6 separate regions of the Homo sapiens genome follow, and regions 1, 2, 3, 4 and 5 are each linked to region 6. Evidence: promoter capture Hi-C in 16 types of primary human blood cells and fetal thymus (Javierre and others, 2016). All regions are on one chromosome and are shown on one strand. The core of a region is centred on a gene start or on the middle of the fragment in contact, and the rest is flanking DNA. Distances in the headings are between cores, read along the strand shown.

Region 1 (3,183 bases), core at 197-2,696, 630 kb before region 6:
AGACATATTGGGGTCTCTGGAGCATTCTCCGTGCCCTTCTTGGAGATGGCATCTGAGACAGGGAGGCAGGAACAGCCTCATGTTCCAAGTACTTTGTACAGTGCACACTCTCTTTGCCACTGTTCTTCACACATTGTACCCTGTCTTGTGGCCTCACTCCTGTTTGGTGTCTTTCTTTAACACTTATCTGCTCGTCCCCAAAGATAGGTGGCAGAGAGTCTTGTTAGAGAAAGTATGATGATTAGGAAAAGGGTTTTCCTGCAGGTTGTGTCCAGGATTCCTCTGGTGTGTCCCCGTAACCCCCAAATCACCTAACTCCTCTCTCCTCTTTTCCTGCTCCCCCATGGGCTATCCCGAGCACAGAAGAACAGCAGCGAGGTAGAGACCCACTCTGGCCGGGGGTTACCAGGCTGGTGGGAGTTGGAGCTAAGGGAGCAGGGTGGAGGGGGAAGCCAGGACTGGAGATGGGTGATGGGGGGATGAGGAAAGGGGAAGAGTAGGAATGGAGCCCAATTTTCAACCCTTTCCACTTGGGGCTGATGAGATTTTTTATGGTCCCCACAGGAGCCATCCCTGGGCAGGCTCCAGGGTCTGTGCCAGGCCCAGGGCTGGTGAAGGACTCACCACTGCTGCTTCAGCAGATCTCTGCCATGAGGCTGCACATCTCCCAGCTCCAGCATGAGAACAGCATCCTCAAGGTGAGGGAGCCACGGGGAGGACTGGGATGGGAGATGGAGCATATTTGCCCCATTGATGATAGATGACAGGGGCCTCCTAGCACCTCTTACCACTATCCTTCTTTTTTCATCCACAGGGAGCCCAGATGAAGGCATCCTTGGCATCCCTGCCCCCTCTGCATGTTGCAAAGCTATCCCATGAGGGCCCTGGCAGTGAGTTACCAGCTGGAGCGCTGTATCGTAAGACCAGCCAGCTGCTGGAGACATTGAATCAATTGAGCACACACACGCACGTAGTAGACATCACTCGCACCAGCCCTGGTATGTACCTGCCAACCCCCAAGATGAATAAAACTGCCCCCTCCACTTGGCCCAGGGATTTAGCCCCTGCTCAGGTGGTTCCCCCACCACAGAAGCTCTTCCCAGCAGTGTTCTTTGGCTTCACTGTTCAGTTTGTTTGATTCACCCACTCTCTCTCAAGTACTTGTTCTGTTAGAGAGTCTTATACCTGCACCCCTAACCCTTAATCCAGTAGAACTGCCTGCCTGCGCCTTGGTGGGCCTCACCAGCTTTCTCTCCCCACAGCTGCCAAGAGCCCGTCGGCCCAACTTATGGAGCAAGTGGCTCAGCTTAAGTCCCTGAGTGACACCGTCGAGAAGCTCAAGGTCAGCTCAGTTTGCCAGGCAGAGCTCACTTCACAGCATAAACTGGTGGAGCCAGGCACTTGTGGAGTTCCTCTGAGCCCAGCCCTGTGCTAGACAGCAATTGGGGAGGAGATGGAAGGGAAGGCAGGGTTCTTGCCTTGGAAGCTCACTGTCTCAGTGCAAACAGAAGACAGATTCTCATAACAAAATGGATAAGCTAGGGTAATCTTTAGAGTGACTGGTTCAGGCTTTAGCTTCCATCAGCGCTGAGATCATTGTGGGGTAGAACGGTTGGGCATGGCTTCCCAAGAGCGGTAGAATGTGAGTTGGGCCTTACAGGATGAGGACTTGCAAAGTAAGGAGGAGTGCTGGTGTGGGGATGGGGTTGGAGATGAGAGCAAAAGTATGTTGATATAGAGGACTAAGTCCCTGCCCCCCTGGTATTAGTGTCTCTGTGAAACCACGTGGTCTTGTGCTAGCCTGTGGGGGTCCCATAAATGAACCCTTGTCTTCCTCTCCCCTTCCCTAGGATGAGGTCCTCAAGGAGACAGTATCTCAGCGCCCTGGAGCCACAGTACCCACTGACTTTGCCACCTTCCCTTCATCAGCCTTCCTCAGGGTGAGGGGGAGCATGGGGTGGAGGATGGGACAGTGTGGAGAGCTCAGGCGGGCCCCCCTCTCCTCCAGAATTGGAGGAGGCCTTTGGAGTCTCAGGTCTAACAACTGCATACCTTGGGTTATCTGGCCAAATTTTACTTACAAGTAACTCAGAAGTGCTTACAGTGCTTTGAAATTCCAATATTTTAGCACCTAAACACCTTCCGTGACTTTTGACACCAGGAGGGCCTCAAAACTCCCTTGTCAGATTATGTATCCCCATTCTTATTTGAAAAATGTGGTCACAATAGCCCAGGATCTCAGAAGCCCTAGTCACCCAGGAGCTGCCTTGGTCTCAGTGCTCAGGGACCCCTTCAGTGGCCCACAGCTCAAGTGAGCCCCTGACCTGGAGTCTTTTTCTCCTCATCAACCACCAGGCCAAGGAGGAGCAGCAGGATGACACAGTCTACATGGGCAAAGTGACCTTCTCATGTGCGGCTGGTTTTGGACAGCGACACCGGCTGGTGCTGACCCAGGAGCAGCTGCACCAGCTTCACAGTCGCCTCATCTCCTAAGCACTCCTTTCCCCTGCTGTCCCCTTCGACCCTCAGCCCTCTGGTGCCGCTCTGCCCGATGCACAGCCACCTCAGCCAGCCCCCAGGTAGAAACGTGGGTTAAGCTCTTCCTGCCCCGTTCAGCTTCACTCCCACCCTTTCAGCGTCCTGCCCCTTCACCTTGACCCGGGTTCCCCCACTCCCATTCCCTGGCCTCTGCCATAATTTGTTGTTCAACTGCTCCCTCCTTCCTGAGGGGCCTCAGGGCTTGTGGGGGGTAGGCTGAGACCCCACCACCAAAGGTTAAGTGAGGTCCCCTTGATTGAGGACTTCACCCCTTGATTAAAGCAACTTCTGCTTCAGTGCTTCCTGTGTGGTGTTGAGAGTGGGACTTGGGCCATTAAGCTCACAGCAGGAGTGGAGGAGAAGCGATGCTGAGGAAGCTTTGGCTGTATCAAATTTGAGGTCTCCTCTTCGTAGTGACCAGAAGAATGCTGTTTCTAAAATTCATGTGCAGTAAGTTACTCTAACCAAGGAGGAAAGGGCTAGACTTAGGACTAGGTACCTAAGTTCATTTATGGAGTCAGGAGGGCTGGGAGGGTGTAGCCTCTGCCAACCCTGCCTCTGCTTCCTGTAGCTTCCACTGCTCTTTAGTCCAATTTTTGGAGCTGGAGTAATGATATGATCACCACCCCAGCCAATTTTCTGATG
Region 2 (3,225 bases), core at 6-2,505, 800 kb before region 6:
ACCCACCCTTCTCCACAGTGCATCTATCTCCCTCCCTCTGTGCAGGGCGCCTCCCAAATTGCCTGTCCACTCTGCAGGTGATGCCTTCAGTGAAGAGGCCAACAGGAGGTTTGAACGCTACCCTGGCCAGACCAGCAACCAGATTATCTAAGTGCCACTGCCCTCTGCAAACCACCACTGGCCCCTAATGGCAGGGGTCTGAGGCTGCCATTACCTCAGGAGCTTACCAAGAAACCCATGTCAGCAACCGCACTCATCAGACCATGCACTATGGATGTGGAACTGTCAAGCAGAAGTTTTCACCCTCCTTCAGAGGCCAGCTGTCAGTATCTGTAGCCAAGCATGGGAATCTTTGCTCCCAGGCCCAGCACCGAGCAGAACAGACCAGAGCCCACCACACCACAAAGAGCAGCACCTGACTAACTGCCCACAAAAGATGGCAGCAGCTCATTTTCTTTAATAGGAGGTCAGGATGGTCAGCTCCAGTATCTCCCCTAAGTTTAGGGGGATACAGCTTTACCTCTAGCCTTTTGGTGGGGGAAAAGATCCAGCCCTCCCACCTCATTTTTTACTATAATATGTTGCTAGGTATAATTTTATTTTATATAAAAAGTGTTTCTGTGATTCTTCAGAGCCCAGGAGTCAGTGCTGGTGGTTGGAGGGACCTGCCCCCACTGGTTCATTTAACCCTCTGTCTCGGTGCCCTCAGAACCTCAGCCAGAAAGGCAAGGAGGAAATCAGAGCAGGAGCCTCATACTCTTGGTGATCTATTCATTCTGTGACCTCAGGGGTCACATATAAGGTCAGTGTTTCTCGTCCCCGCCGGATCTGCACTGCCAACTGGGATTGGGTTCGAACAGCTTCATAAACATCTTCAGCATTTTGTACCATCTGCTCCCCAATGGCCAAAATCACATCACCAGGCCGCAGACCAGCCCTATAGAGAAAAATGGACAGAGAGAAAGGAAGGAGTACAAAGCCTAGTTCAAGGACACATGCACACCTTGCCCATCCCCATATCACACTGCAGCCTCTCCCTCACCGGTGTGCAGGGGAGCCCAGGATGACTTTATGGATGAGTACACCATGCTGAACATCGGGAAAGCTTGGTTCTCGAAGCTGTAGTTCAGCAAGGATGCTGAAAGTACACAGATCACCCTATTAGCCAAACCCAGGCATTCTCCCCATCCTGAGTTCCACCTCAAGTCTCTCATCAACACATTGATAAATATATGGACAGGACATGGGCTAGGTACTACAAAATACAATGGCAACTCACTTTCTGTCTTCTAGCAATAAAGTGCAACATGTACATAAAAGATGTACACCACATGAGGGCACCAAATGACAAACAGTGTTAAATCAATAGCACTAATGTCATTCTAGAATACTAAGAGAAGCTTTAAGGGGAAAGAACTTAAGTTGAGCCTAAAAGGATGGATCTGATATTAACCATATAAAACAAGAACAGCATAAATAAAAAACATGGGAGTAGGAAATCAGGTTGGCTGAGTATTCATATAGGAAGGTATTACAGCCAGGTCTAGAAAGTTGATTTACAGACAGATGGAAAATGGCCCTTAAATGCCAAGTTAATGGATTGAAGGCTTGAAATCAAAGCAGTAACAGGATGAAATCAATCTGGTGACAGGTGTACAAAGTGGAGTGGGATAAGAAAGTCAAGATGATGAAGGGAGACAGCTCTTGTGATTATTTCAAGTGTGACACAGTTCATCTTAGATAAAGACAGAAATGAGAACAAAGCTCAATAGAGGTGCCCCCCTCTGATTACACTGGTCACATTACATGTCACTGTCCCTAAAGCTCATACCTGGGACTCAGGGTCAGCATCATCACCCCAATGTAGCGCCGCTGGGACCCACTGATTCCGGAGGAGGAATCTGTGACAGAGGGACAAATGAGCCCCACCCAGCTACATCCTTCCTTCCCTGCCCTCTTCTCCCAGTAGACCACCCTCCAGGAAGTCCCACTGAATGCCCTTCCCCTATTTCCACCACATTAAAGGAACCCGTTTCCCCATAAGGCAGGCTCACTCTTCTTTTCCCCACGATGCAGAAACTCTCGAAGACGATCAGAAGGGATGGCAAAGGAGATTCCAGCTGTGACCTTCATGGTGTTCACTCCAATCACCTCCCCATCCTGCAGGGATACAGCCCCCAGTTCCCTAGCCTAAACAAATAGTAGGGGATGGGGGCACCCGAACAAAAGTACCAGCAAGTGTTGGGGAGATCTGGTTGGATATTGAGAGATAGCCAACAAAGAACTGCTCAGAAACTTGACCAAACATCCTTGAATTAGGGGAAACCTACCCTTCCCACACTGACCTGGGGCAGGGATTCTTGGAAGGAAGGATGTCTCACTCACCAGGTTAACCAGGGGACCTCCAGAGTTTCCAAACTGTAGGACAAGGAGAAAACATGAAAGAGATCTGGGGATTCTAAGTCTGGGGGCATACCAGGATGTAGGTACTTTCTCCAAATTCTCTTCTTTCTCAGCCCATGAATAAGTGGCCACATTTTTGCAGCCTAAGCTCTATATAGGCTCATCCACCATATATCAGTTGGTGCTTGTACCACACAGCCTCTCCCCCCTCCCCCATCATTTGTCATTTCTCTCCTATCAGGACGCACATCAATAGCTGCATCAGTTTGAATGTATTCCACATTGGTTTGGGGGAGTCCCAGGTCTCTGGCTGGACGCTGAGCAGAGCTAACAATGCCGGATGTGATCGTGTTCTGCAGTGCAAAGGGACTTCCCATGGCAACAACAAACTCCCCTTGCCGGACATCAGCTGAGCGTCCCAGAGGCAGCGTGGGGAGAGGCTCCTAAGGGAGAATGGGTAAAAGAGACCTGTCATCTGAAGATGCGAGCAAATAAGCAGCTCCAACCAGACCTGGCCTACCCCAGCCCCCACCTTAGTCTGAATCCTCAGCGTTGCGATGTCTGCCACGGGATCCACAGCTGTGACCACGGCCTCATACGTGTCGCCGCTTAGCAGTCTCACACGGACTCTGCGCCGATCAGCCACCACATGGGCGTTGGTGACAATGAGCCCATCGGCAGCCACCACGAATCCTGAGCCGTTCGAGATAGGGACCTCGCGGCCCAAGAAAGGGTGCCTGAAATGGAGGGAAAGCACAGATAAGAGGAGGCTCTGACCCCTCCTACCCGCCCGCCCTCCAGCCTGTGGCTTCAGTGCCTCCC
Region 3 (3,408 bases), core at 729-3,228, 910 kb before region 6:
GAGTAGCTGGGATTACAGGCATGCACCACCATGCCCGGCTAATTTTGGATTTTTAGTAGAGATGGGGTTTCTCCATGTTGGTCAGGCTGGTCTCGAACTCCTGACCTCAGGTGATCCACCCGCCTCGGCCTCCCAAAGTGCTGGGATTACAGGCGTGAACCACGGAGCCCAGTCGTGGCAGTAGATTTCTAAGGCAGCAGCTGATGCCCTTGGTCAGTTACACTCCTTGTAGTTTAAAGTCTGCAAGGTGCTTTCTCATGACCATTATAGTTTATCACCCTCAGAAAACAATTCTTATGTCATAGTCCCCATTTCTGGTACAGTTCTTTGCATATTTTTAATAAATGCTATAGAGGGTACGGAAAGAAATTAATAGTAGGTAGGAGCAATGGGTGGTATGGTTTGGAGTGAGGCTAGTGCTCAAGTTTGAATGCGTCCCCCAAAGTTCATTTGCTGGAAACTTAGTACCCAATGGAATAGTGTTCAGAGGTGGGGCCTAACAAGAGGTGATTAGGCCATAAGGGCTCTGCCCCCATAAATGAATTAATGTCATTATCTTGGAAATGAGTTAGTTATTGAGAGAGTGGGTTTGTTGTAAAAGTGAGTTCAGCTCCCTATTGCTGTCTTGCTCTTTTGTACCCCTTGCCCTTCTGCCTTCTGCCATGGGATGACACAGAAAAAATGCCCTCACTAGATGTGGGATTCTCAACCTTGGAATTCCTACCCTCCAGAATTTAAGAATACATTTCCTTTATTTACAAGTTAGTTGTTCTGTGGTATTCTGGTATAGCAACACAAAGGGGAGTAAGACAGGTAATGCTGGGGTTGAGCCTAGTAAGGTAGGTGGGGTCAGTTATAATGGACCCTCTAACCGAAAAGGAAACATAAGCCATTTTTAAGACAAAGAATGATATGATCAAAATATTTTTACAAGGACAATTCTAACATCAGTGGAAACGATAATCTGGAGATTAGAGACAGAAAGGCTAATTTGGACTATATGGGGGGAAAGAGCTGTTGAGAAGCTACCCTTTAAACTGAAACACAGGAACTCTATTGAATATCAGATTATAGTGTTTAAAAAAGGACATAGGTTAAATAGTTCTGTTCTTACCTGAGGAACAGTTGATAGGAGCAAAATGGTTTAGTGGGACTAGAATACAAGCAGGCAACTCTTTTCCTGTTGAAACATCTAACCTATCCTGTGCCACTCATTGAAATATTGCCCCACCCCACCTCCAACCTGCATCTAGACAATGAACTGAGAAAATAACAATAATAATAATAAAGAAAACAAGGAAAACTGCTTGTACATTTCTAGCTTGGAACTAGCATTATCTTTCCCTCTCCTGTGGACTAATTCAGAGAATTCCTTTTTAACCAGAGTTGAAGACCCAGACCAACCAACTGTTAAGGACCAGGACGCTCCTACCCCATCTGGAGTTCGTCAAAGGGACTATGGGAATCAACCTCAAGTAAGCGAGAATGAGTATGAAGAGAGCGACAGACCCTCTTGGAATACAGGAGTTTGAAAAGACTTAAAAGAACTTTGTGAAGGCAGCTATAACTTCCATGAGGGCAGTGACCATTGTCTGTACATCCACTGTACTCCAATCCTAGCACAATGCGTGGCACATAACGTGCCCACCACAGATGTTTAGTGAACAAAATAGCGACTGGCTGAAGGAAATGATGTGGAAGGGAAAAGTTAAAACCAAGAAAACGGTCGGTGGGGGAGCTACTGGCATGTTTCATGGGAAGGGGTAGAAAAAGAAAAATGTCAGGTTTAGCACAGCATTTCCAACAAATAGACAAAATTCTACCTAAGGGACAAAGAAGGACTGTTCTCAGGGTATCTAGGGACTTGGAGACCGTTTTCCTGAAGCGCCACCTGAAGCGCACCCTGAGGCAGCCAGGCCCCGCCTTGCCCGCAGTGAGCCTCCCGCCCAGCCGCGCCGGCCTGAGGGGGGCGCCTCCGAACGCGCGGGCGCACGCTGAGAGCCGGGAGGACCAGGTGAGGGGGCCTCCGTCTTCCGAAGACAGGTACGGTTCTCCACGCCTCGGGGAGGGAGGGCAGCCCGAGAGCAGCCGGCACCACTTCGCAGGCTGGGCTGGGCGTGGGCCGAGCTCGGGCCAGTCCTCAGGCAGGTGTTGGTTGCGCTGGCCGTGGCGGGTGCCGGCGCAAGACTGACGCCGAGAGAGGCTCCGAAATCGCTGTCGGAGTCATCCCTCCGCATACTGTTCTGGGCGGCCAGGCCTGCGCGGAGTCTGGGCCCGGAGCTTCCTCCGCGGGGCCCCCAGGCCCGAGGGCCGGGCTGCTGATCCGCCAGGCACGGTAGGCGCCATGCCGAGGGACCACGGAGGCTTCAGGGAGCCACGAGAATTTTTTTTCTTCTGGTTTTGCTTTGTTTTTGAGACGGAGTTTCACCCTTGTTGCCCAAGCTGGAGTGCAATGGCGTGATCTCGGCTCACTGCAACCTCCGCCTCCCGGGTTCAAGTGATTCTCCGCCTCAGCTTCTCGAGTAAGCTGGAATTACAGGCTCCCGCCACCACGCCTGGCTAATTTTTTTATATTTTTAGTAGAGACATGGTTTCCCTATGTTGGCCAGGCTGCTCTCGAACTCCTGACCTCGTGATCCGCCCGCCTCGGCCTCCTAAAGTGCTGCGATTACAGGCGTGAGCCACCGTGCCCGGCCACGAGAATGTTTTCATTTCGTTTAAAGTGAACCCATGAAGTCAAAGAAAGTGTTTTGATTTTTTTCTCACATCAGGAGGGGGAAATGAGATTTTTAGGGCCTACAAAATCCATTAACTTCTTTTAATCTTTTTTTAATGGAGGAAGGGGTCCACGAAGACGAAAGTGCCTTAGGGCCCACGAAATCTTTAATAGGGCCCTGCCAGAGGGAGAACCATTGAATCGTTTATCACGCGACAAAGTGAATGAGGGCTTGTAAAGGGGCCCTAACCTAGAATGCTCAGCACGGAACAGAACATCCGCAGAGGCAGACACAGCGAGAAGCCGATCTGTGAGAGGTGGATCTCCCGGGGTGCGGGCAGGGGAGGGCCTAGTGTGAGGATGGAGAGTTGGGCAGAAGGCACAAGCAGAACTTTAGGGCCAGGGTAAAGATATTGGATTCTGTTTCCAGTGGTGTAATTGGAAGTCCTTGGAGGGTTTTTAGTTTGGGCATAACTTGGTGGTTTGGAGTGGTTCAAGGCCCAGTTCCAGTTTTAACCAGTTTGCAGGGAGAATTCATTAAGCGAGTGTTCTTGGCAAAAGTGGAGAGTATAGGGTCAGAATAAGGTCAGAGCCTGTTTAGTACTATGCCCAGACACATCAGATGCATGAATTGATGATGTTTGAGGATGTAAGGAAGAGAGCTGCCTCTTACCTCATTTAAAATACAGTCT
Region 4 (3,263 bases), core at 217-2,716, 750 kb before region 6:
GTCTCAGCCTCCCCAAATCCTTCTCCTTTGTTTAAACAGGTAACACTGCAATTAGCATTACCCAACTCATGTAATCCTCATGACAGCCCTACAAGATGGTATCAGCCCTATCTTCCTAGACAGGAAACCACCCGGGGTCATGGTGACAGTGATGGGGCCTGACTGTAGGTCTCTTGACCCTAGAGCCAGAGAACTCCCACTGGACCCTGTGTCAATCCTTAGACCCTGTGCCTCCCCAGCAGCTCCTTGTGCCCCTTCCACGGTTCCAGCTGAATAAGGTTCTTCAGCCACCTCACCTGTACCTTTGGACTCTGCTGGGGCCTCTCCTCTCTTGGAGGGCTCTCTTCCTCTTGACCCATCTTCTGGAGGGCCAGACCCCTGCCTTGGGGCTCCTGGTTCAGTCCCTTCTCTCTGCGGGCACTGAGGGGCCAATCCCCAACCTTGCGCAAAGCCAGAGACACAAAAGTGCTAGATAGATCCAGTGAGTCCTGTGAACAAAATGGAAAGTTAGGGAGGGGGTGGGGATGAAGTACATTCTGGAGGAGGAGGAGGAAAATGAGCAGAGACCAAGAAGGGAAAAAAGGGGCTCTCACCTCTTCTTCACCACACTGTCCCTGAACTGGGTTTCCAGGGCTGGATGGGGGGCTCTCATCTCCATCTGAGGTAGTGCTGGCCTGGAAGAAAGATAGACAGGTACAGAGTTGGGATCACCTTGAGCTGCCTGCTTTCTTGGCCCTCACCTTCCTGGCACTTGGTGCTCTTAGTACCTGCCCTAGATACTCACCTTGGGCTCCCCACAGTACTGCTCCAAACGCTCCTGTCGCTTCCGTTCCTTTTGACGCTGCAATAGTAATGGTAACAATGATGTATTTTGAACACTTACTGTATGTCGTGTGCTGGGCTAAGATTTCGCATTCCATCTTTGCAGCTCTATGAGACAGGCATCATTATTATCCTCATTTTGCAGGTGAAAAAGCAGACAAGAGAGGCACCAGCAAGAGGCCTCATGTAAGGAGGCAGATTCCTACCTAGGCAGCACAGTAGGATTCCAGAACCACTGCACCAGATGGCCTGTGAGAGACCCCCCAGTCCCTGGGCCCCTTGTGTCCTCCTGGCAAGAGAGTCCACTGCAGGCCATCTTGAGCTCTCTCCTGTTCCCACAAAGTTTCCTCTTTCCCTCTCCCAAATCCCTTTGGCTCCCCTGCACCCTCCAGCCATGCTCTAGCCACCTTCTTCTTGAGTCGCTTTTTCTCTGCTTTCTGTTTCATGCGCTCCTCCTCAGCCACCAGCTCCTCAGCCAGGCGATTGGCTTCCTGAAGGACGAAGGGCAGGTGACAGAAAAAGAGAGAAACAGGGAAATGGAGAGCAAACATGAAAGGGGGCAGGCAGTATAGAAGGATCTTGAAAGGTACCAATTAGGGGAGAATATAGGGATGGGGATACAGGGATTGAAAGAACCCTGGGGGACGGCAAAGCCCTCTCCTGAGAATCTCACCTCTTCTGTCACCAGGAGCTTCTGGGGCATGGCCACCTGAAGCAGGCTGTCTGAGACACTGGGGAAGGTGGCAGAGGCAGAGGGGCTTTGAGGGCAGGGCTCAGACTCTTGGGGAGGATACAGGAAGGACTTGCGGAGACCACAGTAGGTGCCCAGTCCCTCAGCCCCCTTGCCCCTGTCACTCTGTCCAGTTGATTTCCCTTCATCATCCAAGTGGCCCAGGAGGTAATCTGTCAGGAGGGAGAAAGAGACAGGAAAGAAAGGACATGAGAGCGGGGTGCATCTGAGGGTCAGCCCTCCCAGGGTACCAGCCTCGATCCCTGGGCCCGGTCCCTGCACTCCCCACCATGGTGCCACAGCTGCAGCCGCCCGCTGCTCCCATCCACATGGATCCGGTGCAGGCCCTGGGGATCACTCTCCACAAGCCGTCGAAGAAAATCCACTATGTCCTGGGAGGGGAGGGGAGGGGAGGGGAGGCTGGTGTTGGGGGCAGTTCCTGGAGAGAGCAAGGGCTTCGCTGGCTTGATCTCTCCACCATGGCAGCCACCAACCAGCTATCCAGCCCAGAGACTCTCACTGGCTCTGACCTCTCCCTCCTCAGCACCGCAAAATCTGCTGCCCCCAGCTATTGTAGTGAATCACCTCCCCTCGCTGCTTTCCTGCCTTCCCAAGGGTTGAGTATGGTATTCAACCTGGCCTCCTCTACCATCCAGGATCTTCTCTCCTCAACCTGAGTTAGCCACACTGAGGCCCCTGGAATGAAGCCCTCCCACCTGCTCTTCCAGCTAGGCCCCCTGTCATATCTGCAGTATGAACAGCTCCACATAACCCACCCTGAGGCTAGCTCACACCTAAACAAGTACAGCAGCTCCTGGCTGGCCGCTCCTCTGCACCTCATCTGTTTCTCCACAAAACTAAGCTCTAAGAAATTACTTCCCTACTCAGGGACATCCAATAATCCCCCACTGCCAAGGCCATAGGCAGAGTTGAACCTAATTCCTCAGCCTACGATTCAGAGCCTTCCAAAAGGCTCCCAGGCTGACCTTTCCAGCCCTCCTTTTAATCCTCCCCTGCTTCACTGCTGTCCTCCCTCCCACCACCAGGCTCCCTCCAGCCTTGGGGCCTTCCCCCAGCTGCTCTCCAATCCCTCCTAACTCTTGAGCTTCTTTCTCACATCTTGCCTCACCTTCAAGGTCCAGTTCAAATTCTATCTCCCTTCAAAGCCTTCCCAGACCCTTTCATCTCCAATTATCTCTGCCTCCTCCAACTAACCTGCAACCACATTATCTGTGTTACACAATTTAGAAACTTGTTATTGATTGCTTTCTATTGCTCTCCTCATTGGCCAGGCAGCATGGAATTCCAAAGGGCATTGTGCTGGAGTGGAGCCACTTGCATCTGAGGTTATTTTTTCTTTTGAGGTGGATTCTTGCTCTGTCACCCAGGCTGGAGTGCAGTGGTATGATCTCAACTCACTGCAACCTCTGCCTCCCGTGTTCAAGCGATTCTCCTGCCTCACCCTCCCAAGTAGCTGGGATTACAGGCACACGCCACAATACCATTTGTATTTTTAGTAGAGAGGCGGTTTCACCATGTTGGCCAAGTTGTCTTGAACTCTTGACCTCAAGTGATCCACCCGCCTCAGCCTCCCAAAGTGCTGGGATTGCAGGTGTGAGCCCCTGTGCCCGGCCGACTATTTTTTGTTTGTTTCTGAGACAGGGTCTTGCTGTGTTGCCCAGGCTAGACCCAAACACCTAGGCTCAAGCGA
Region 5 (3,062 bases), core at 182-2,681, 780 kb before region 6:
CGCGCCTCACCGCCACTTGGTGCGTCGGTTCTGGAACCACGTTTTGACCTGTGCGTCGGTCATGCGCAAGGCCTTGGCCAGCGCCGCCCTCTCCGCAGAGGCCAGGTACTTCTGGCGCAGGAAGCGCCGCTCCAACTCCAGCACCTGTGAGCGGGAGAAGGACGTGCGCGGCTTCTTCCGCTTCGGAGGGGTCCGGTTTTGGTAGGGGTGGCCTATGCGGCGCGTCCCAGAGAAGGGCGAGAGCGCAGCTACCGGGAGGAAGAAAGACCAGGGCAGGATTTGCAGGGTGGCCCGAGGTGCCACTGAGAAGGCCGCGCGGCTGTCCAGGCCGCAGAACTCCCGCGCCCTGTCCTTACCCGGGCCCTAAGCATCAGCCGAGCCCTATAGCCAAGAAAGGCCCTTCCCCTGGGATGCGAGGGAGACGTCCCCTGTAACTTCACCCTCCCCTCCCCACGCGTGGACAGTGGGACTACAGAGGAGGGCGCGGGCACCGACGGCAGCTCCCTCCCCATCACCTCTCGGAGGCAGGACCCAGAGATTTGAGTTGGGGGAGGATCCCCTGGGAGGATCTAGTGGGAGGTGTGAAAGGGGTCCTTGAGTTGGAGCAGAAAGCTAAGAAATGAGGAGACGGGGTCAGAGTCGGGCGTGACGCTGGAGGGGTCAGACAACCTCACCCGTGAGCCGGTCCTTGGCAAAGCGGCGGCCGCTGTCCATCCAGGGGAAGGTGAGTCCCGCTAGGCCTCCGGCGCCGCCCAAACCCGAGGGCCCAGGCACTGCAGGCGCCCCCCCAGCGGGCGGCGGCACAGGCAGCGGGCGGTGCGCAGGGACGCGGATCACGCCGCCTGGGCCCACTCCGGAGCTGCCGGGCAGCGGGGCAAGTGAGCCGGCGGGACCGTAGCCCGAGGCTCCGTGGTATCCACCCGAGAACGCCCCATTCTCCCCATGACCCTGGCCCCCGCGACCCAGGCCTAGACCGCCCCCTGGGGTTTCGGGGCCGCTCAGGATCTGATCGATGCCGAAGCTGATTGGCTCGTGGTGTGGGAGGTTGTGTGGACCCAGCATCCCCGGCTCCATCGGTCTGGGCCGAGGAGAACCGCCGGAGGTTCGGTGGTTGGGGAGGATGCCTCAGGCAGCGCCAGAAGCCCAGCGGCGGCGCGCTCCGGAGAGTGGCCTCAGGGGCCCGCGGGGCTGGCCAAGGCAGGGCGCCGGGGTCCCCGAAACAGCAGCATCCCTGTGCACCCGGAGCAGCCGCGCCCGTGCCAGCCGCTGCCGGGCGTCAGCGCAGGGACTTGCATCCCGGGGGAGCACGGCCAGCTGGGGCCCCTGGAGCTTCCTTGCTGGCTCTTAAGCGCAAATAGACGCTGGGCTGCCGGCGCCGCTGCCCAAGTCCCGGGTGGAGAGGGTTGGCCAGCTCCGGCTGGGGCAGTGACTGACGGATCGGCCCGGGTGGGTAGTGGGGGCTGGGGGTAGGGCAGGGGCGGGGCCCAGCAGTTAAAGGGGAAGGGACGCCTGTTTGCGCCAAGCGCAGGGGGAAGGCTGGCTGGCGGAGATGTGCGGGGAGGGGGACAGGGGGCCAGGGTGTTAGGAGCCAGGCTCAGCGCGGGAGGGGCCCGAGCATGGGCCGCTGAGTCAGCGGAGATGCTCACCGCGCCTCCATCCTTGCTGGCCTCCGCCTTTGGGCGGCCTCCGCCTTTGGGCTGCCTCCGCCTCACCGGCTTCCTCCGCAGGTGCCTCCTCCCCCAGCCCCCACTCTTCGCCTCTCGATGGATCCTTCTGGCCAACTCCCGGATTCGTTGTGGTCCCCGCCTAAATGCTCTCGAAGACCAAATCTCGTTGTGGTTTCCCGGCTGCGTAAGAAGCGGCTGGGGAACGGCGCCCGGTGAGCTGCAGGCCCAGGAAGAGAACAGGTGTGGGAAGGGGACGGCAGGGGCTAAGGGCGGGGAACGGCCGCTTTGGGCTGGCGATCGTGGTGCGCCTTCTGGCCTCTCCTGTAGGTCCCCCCAGCCCTGTTCATGCGCACCGGTAATTGGTGTCCTGTGTTTCCTAGAATTTCGATTTTCCAAAATCCGTGTAAAACGGACCATGGCTCAACCCGGGCCAAATCAGGCCGGCGGGTTCTTGGGGCTGGCACTTACCCCCGGACCCCAAGTGCAGGGAGTCCTCAATGCAGGACTCTGCCCCTCCATTCTGTGCCTAGGAAGTCTGTTCTCACACTCTTCCTCCTCAACGGCGGGAGGGCGAAATCTCGCCACGGGGGACACGTGGGACCTCACTGAGGCCTTGGTTGGATCCTGGCCGCCTTGTTTCCCATAAACATTTTACCCCACCCAAACTCAAAAAATGGCCTGGAGCTGTCAGAGAAGGGAGGTGGGGAAAGACCTAAGCCGCTTGGTGACCTTGTGACCTCTGGCCATGAATCCAGGAGCCGGGAGTGCGTGAACTCTGCGTCCTTCCCGGGGATGGGACCCCCGCGGGCGGGCCCCTGAGCCTTAGACCCGCCCCCGCCGCCGCCCTGCCCGGTGCAGGCCGCGGTAATCGGGTTAGCTGGGCCGGAATTACATTACCTTCCCCGGCCCGCCCCGGCCCCCGGGGGGGCCCTGGCGCCTCTGAGCCGGTGAGACTGGGCTCAGAGAGGGGGGCGCTTCTACCATCCTGCGGTGGCGGTGGCGGGTGGGCACCAACGAGCAGCTCAGCCTACCTCTGACACGTGGTGGCCAAAGGACCTTACCCTGCTGTGCCAGCCCTCTACCCTCGTCCCGAGCCCACCCCGCTGTTCAGCTCCATCCTGCTGGTTCCCGTGTGAACCGAAATGCTTTGTAAGTCTACTAGCTGGATCTCCCTGGGAGCACTGATCTTCAAACTGATTCTCCAGGATCCCCTGGGAAAGACTCTGCCCCCTCCTTTCTCCCCAGCAGATGGGCTGGCAGCCTGGCGCCTGGGGCAGGGTGAAGGGGTCTTTTCTCCCCTGGGAACCAGGAATGATATTTGGGCATCTGGGCAGAAAGATAAAGAAGAGAAAGAAGGGTGAGCTCTGTCCACCAGCCCTTCAGTGTTCTCTGAAG
Region 6 (3,062 bases), core at 526-3,025:
GACTGCAGGACAGTTCTCCAGGTGGCCTTGGACCAATTTAGTTCTCTCTCCTTTCTCACTTGTGGTTCTCTAGGATAACTGTAGAATGTGCTGGGAATGTAGCATCCTGTGATAGAGAGAGACTAACCAGACCAGCCAGGGCCCTGTTCCAGTGTCTCCCAGAAATAGAATGTCCTTCATATATATATGTATATATATATATATATATTTTTTTTAATTTTAATTTTTATTTATTTATTTTTTTTTGAGAGGGAGTTTCACTCTTGTTGCCCAGGCTGGAGTGCAATGGCGCGATCTCAGCTCATGGCAACCTCTGCCTCCCCAGATCACGTGATTCTCCTGCCTCAGTCTCTTGAGTAGCTGGCATTACAGGCATGAGCCACCATGCCTGGCTAATTTTTTATTTTTTAGTAGAGACGGGGTTTCTCCACGTTGGTCAAGCTGGTCTCGAACTCCCGACTTCAGGTGATCTGCCTGCCTCGGCCTCCCAAAGTGTTGGGATTACAGGCGTGAGCCACCGCACCTGGCCGAATGTTCTTCATGTTTTAGCCCAGTGTGTCATGCCTCCCCACCTCTTCCCCCTGCCCCTGCCCCCTGCAATTAGGCTGTTGCATTGCCACAAAGAAATACCTGAGACTGGGTAATTTATATAGAAACGAGGTTAAATTGGCTCATGTTTCTGCAGGCTGTACAGGAAGCATAGTACCACCATCTGTTTGGCCTCTGAGGAGGCCCCAGGGAGCTTTTACTATTGGCAGAAGGAGAAGAGAGAGCAGGCACATCACATGGTGAGAACTGGACCAAGAGACTGTGTTGGAGGGTGCCACACACTTCTAAATAACCACATCTTCCTGGCACTCACTCACTATTGCAAAGACACCAAGCCATGAGAGATCCACTTCCATGACCCAAACACCTCCCATCAGGTCCCACCTCCAAAAATGGGGACAATTCAACATGAGATTTGGCAGGGACATATATTCAATCCATCCCTGGACCCCCAAATCTCATGTCCTTCTGACATTGCAAAACATAATCATGCCTTCCCAATCACCTACCAAAATTTTAACTTGTTCCAGCATTAAACTCAAAAGTCCAAAGTGTCACAGGAGACATGGCCCAGAAAAAGAACTAATCCCAGCTCCTTGGGAGGCCAAGGCGGGTGGATCACGAGGTCAGGTGATCCAGACCATCCTAGCTAACACGGTGAAACCCCGTCTCTACTAAAAATACAAAAAATTAGCGGGGCGTGGTGGCGGGTGCCTGTAGTCCCAGCTGCTCGGGAGGCTGAGGCAGGAGAATGGCTTGAACCGGGACGCGGAGGTTGCAGTGAGCCGAGATTGCACCACAGCACTCCAGCCTGAGTAACAGAGCAAGACTCTGTCTCAAAAACCAAAGAAATCTCCAGCAGCGGAAATGTATGTAGAACTCATTTTGGTCAGTACTTTTCCTTGTACAGGAAGAAACTGAGGTCGCCCGGTGCAACGCCCAACACAGGTTAAGACAAAGCCGAGACTCAAAACCAGACCCCAGCTTCCGGTCCCAGCCCATAGATTCTTCCATTTCCTTCGCCGGAAGTGATATACAGCCCCTGTTCTCCTTCGCGTCCGTTGACGGGACCCAGGTTGGGGAGGCGGAAGAATGGGCGGGACCATGGGCGGAAGCACCCCTCCTACCAGGACCCGGAAACAGATGGCCACCCCGAGCCGGCCTATCCGGAAACTGGCTCGAAGAAGACGGGGATTGGCCATCGCTTCCGGAAGTTGTGAGCTTTGTTTCGGAGCGGGAGCTCTTCCGAGACGCACTGGGGGCCGGATGGTGAGTTTTCCTTGCGCTCTAACGGGCAGGCTCGGGAGCGGGAGGGTCCGGGCAGTTTTAGTAGTGTCTTTGGGACAACGGCTGCGGTTGGTATTTCTCAAGCGGCAACGAGGCCAGCCCCTGGGAATGCAGCACGAGAATGATAGAGTCAGGCTGTCCCCTCAAGAAATAGTTTAGTGAGGAGACATGCAGCGGATAGGCGCAGGATTCTTCAGAGTTGTGATTGGGCCCAAAAAGGAGCTAGTCCTCAGACTAAAAAGAGCCGTAGTGCCGGGGTTCTGGGCGCTGTAGTAAATGGACTCCAAATGGAGTTGAAGGGAGGGAGGAGTGCGTCAGGCGGAGATGAAAGGAGAGAGGGAACTACCTGTCCGATAGGGCAGAATCGGGGAGAAAGGTTGGTGACTTGAGCTTAGAGAAGGCCATTGCGGCGGTAGCAGAAGAGGAGAGGCAGGGACCAGATCGTAGAGTGTGGAACACCGTGACACAAAGTTGGGGCTTTATCATAAGAGCAGCAGAATGACAAGATCTGATGTACATTTTGAAAGGATCACTGTAACTGCTGGTGACGACTGGATTATAGGAGGGCAGGAATTGTGAGAAACCACTCAGAAGGCTACTGCTGTAGATGAGCGATGTGACCTAGCGTATGGGAGAGAAGTGGACGAATCAAAAGTATATTTAGCAGGTGAAAATTCAGGACTTTACGGATTAGATATAGGATTTGAGTGACAGGTTGGGTCTCAACGATGATTCCAAGTTTCTGACCTGAGTGAGTAAATTACGCTAAACAAGAACAAACTATTTTGAAGTTTTCTAAGGGTTCTTCCCCCCACTCAGTGTTAAAAAGCACGTTTTTTTCCTTTCTTATTATGTGTACTCATGTTTTGTGTGCTTACTGTAGAAAATTCAGAACATACATAACAAAATATTTTCTTTTATATAAAGGACAATAAAAATCACCTCATAACCTCACTACCCAAGATGGTCATATTTTAGTGTTTCTTTCATGTATTTTAAAAAAATATGTGTATCTTTTTATATAATTGGGATCCTACTGATTATGTCTTTCTGTATCCATTTTTTCCACCTTAGCATGACTAATGATTGAACTGTGTGCCAGGATATCGTTCACAAATATATTTTTTTCTGTTTGTAACAGAAAAAGTCAAATTAATTCTAAATAAGAGATAACATTAACTTTTTGGTGTATTTTCTTTTTAATATTTGTTTAAAAGCCTTTTAAA

Evidence for each region. Contacts are between HindIII fragments. The CHiCAGO score rates a contact against its expected background, and 5 or more counts as called.
Region 1: a contact is called between a fragment that was not itself captured here and the fragment with the promoter of TPRKB in region 6, in 1 of 17 cell types (erythroblasts). The highest score is 5.8, in erythroblasts.
Region 2: a fragment that was not itself captured here is called in contact with the fragment with the promoter of TPRKB in region 6 in 1 of 17 cell types (non-activated CD4 T cells); the score reaches 6.3 in non-activated CD4 T cells.
Region 3: the fragment with the promoter of M1AP here is called in contact with the fragment with the promoter of TPRKB in region 6 in 1 of 17 cell types (activated CD4 T cells); the score reaches 6.1 in activated CD4 T cells.
Region 4: a fragment that was not itself captured here is called in contact with the fragment with the promoter of TPRKB in region 6 in 1 of 17 cell types (neutrophils); the score reaches 8.8 in neutrophils.
Region 5: a contact is called between the fragment with the promoter of TLX2 here and the fragment with the promoter of TPRKB in region 6, in 1 of 17 cell types (neutrophils). The highest score is 6.6, in neutrophils.

What each region holds. Positions count from the first base shown.
Region 1 is chr2:74,360,809-74,363,991 of GRCh38, reverse strand. DCTN1 (dynactin subunit 1) reads left to right here. Exons shown (of 32, transcript NM_004082.5): 27 at 364-378; 28 at 565-698; 29 at 815-998; 30 at 1,263-1,342; 31 at 1,851-1,940; 32 at 2,356-2,837. The coding sequence ends at 2,493. Among named protein-coding and RNA genes, the nearest start is that of DCTN1, 18 kb to the left of the region's middle. The HindIII fragment of the contact is 2,943 bases long and covers 1-2,917 here.
Region 2 is chr2:74,530,532-74,533,756 of GRCh38, reverse strand. It overlaps HTRA2 (HtrA serine peptidase 2), which reads right to left. Exons shown (of 8, transcript NM_013247.5): 2 at 2,936-3,140; 3 at 2,652-2,846; 4 at 2,386-2,418; 5 at 2,055-2,160; 6 at 1,832-1,901; 7 at 1,043-1,138; 8 at 438-937. The coding sequence ends at 772. LOXL3 (lysyl oxidase like 3) reads left to right here. Exons shown (of 14, transcript NM_032603.5): 14 at 78-1,499. The coding sequence ends at 151. Among named protein-coding and RNA genes, the nearest start is that of HTRA2, 2.2 kb to the right of the region's middle. RefSeq lists enhancers at 2,718-2,927, 2,938-3,017, 3,048-3,117, 3,138-3,225. The HindIII fragment of the contact is 295 bases long and covers 1,108-1,402 here.
Region 3 is chr2:74,646,900-74,650,307 of GRCh38, reverse strand. It overlaps M1AP (meiosis 1 associated protein), which reads left to right and starts at 1,978. Exons shown (of 11, transcript NM_001321739.2): 1 at 1,978-2,043. The HindIII fragment of the contact is 10,572 bases long and covers 1-3,408 here.
Region 4 is chr2:74,488,706-74,491,968 of GRCh38, reverse strand. It overlaps TTC31 (tetratricopeptide repeat domain 31), which reads right to left. Exons shown (of 13, transcript NM_022492.6): 3 at 1,842-1,944; 4 at 1,496-1,725; 5 at 1,230-1,313; 6 at 785-841; 7 at 594-674; 8 at 297-488. Among named protein-coding and RNA genes, the nearest start is that of TTC31, 7.3 kb to the right of the region's middle. The HindIII fragment of the contact is 4,043 bases long and covers 1-3,263 here.
Region 5 is chr2:74,512,819-74,515,880 of GRCh38, reverse strand. It overlaps TLX2 (T cell leukemia homeobox 2), which reads right to left and starts at 1,431. Exons shown (of 3, transcript NM_016170.5): 1 at 675-1,431; 2 at 11-248. The coding sequence starts at 1,074. RefSeq lists enhancers at 1-195, 2,445-3,062 and silencers at 724-793, 1,374-1,473, 2,511-2,570. The HindIII fragment of the contact is 6,557 bases long and covers 1-3,062 here.
Region 6 is chr2:73,736,058-73,739,119 of GRCh38, reverse strand. It overlaps TPRKB (TP53RK binding protein), which reads left to right and starts at 1,775. Exons shown (of 5, transcript NM_016058.5): 1 at 1,775-1,818. RefSeq lists enhancers at 1,334-1,393, 1,434-1,513. The HindIII fragment of the contact is 15,665 bases long and covers 1-3,062 here.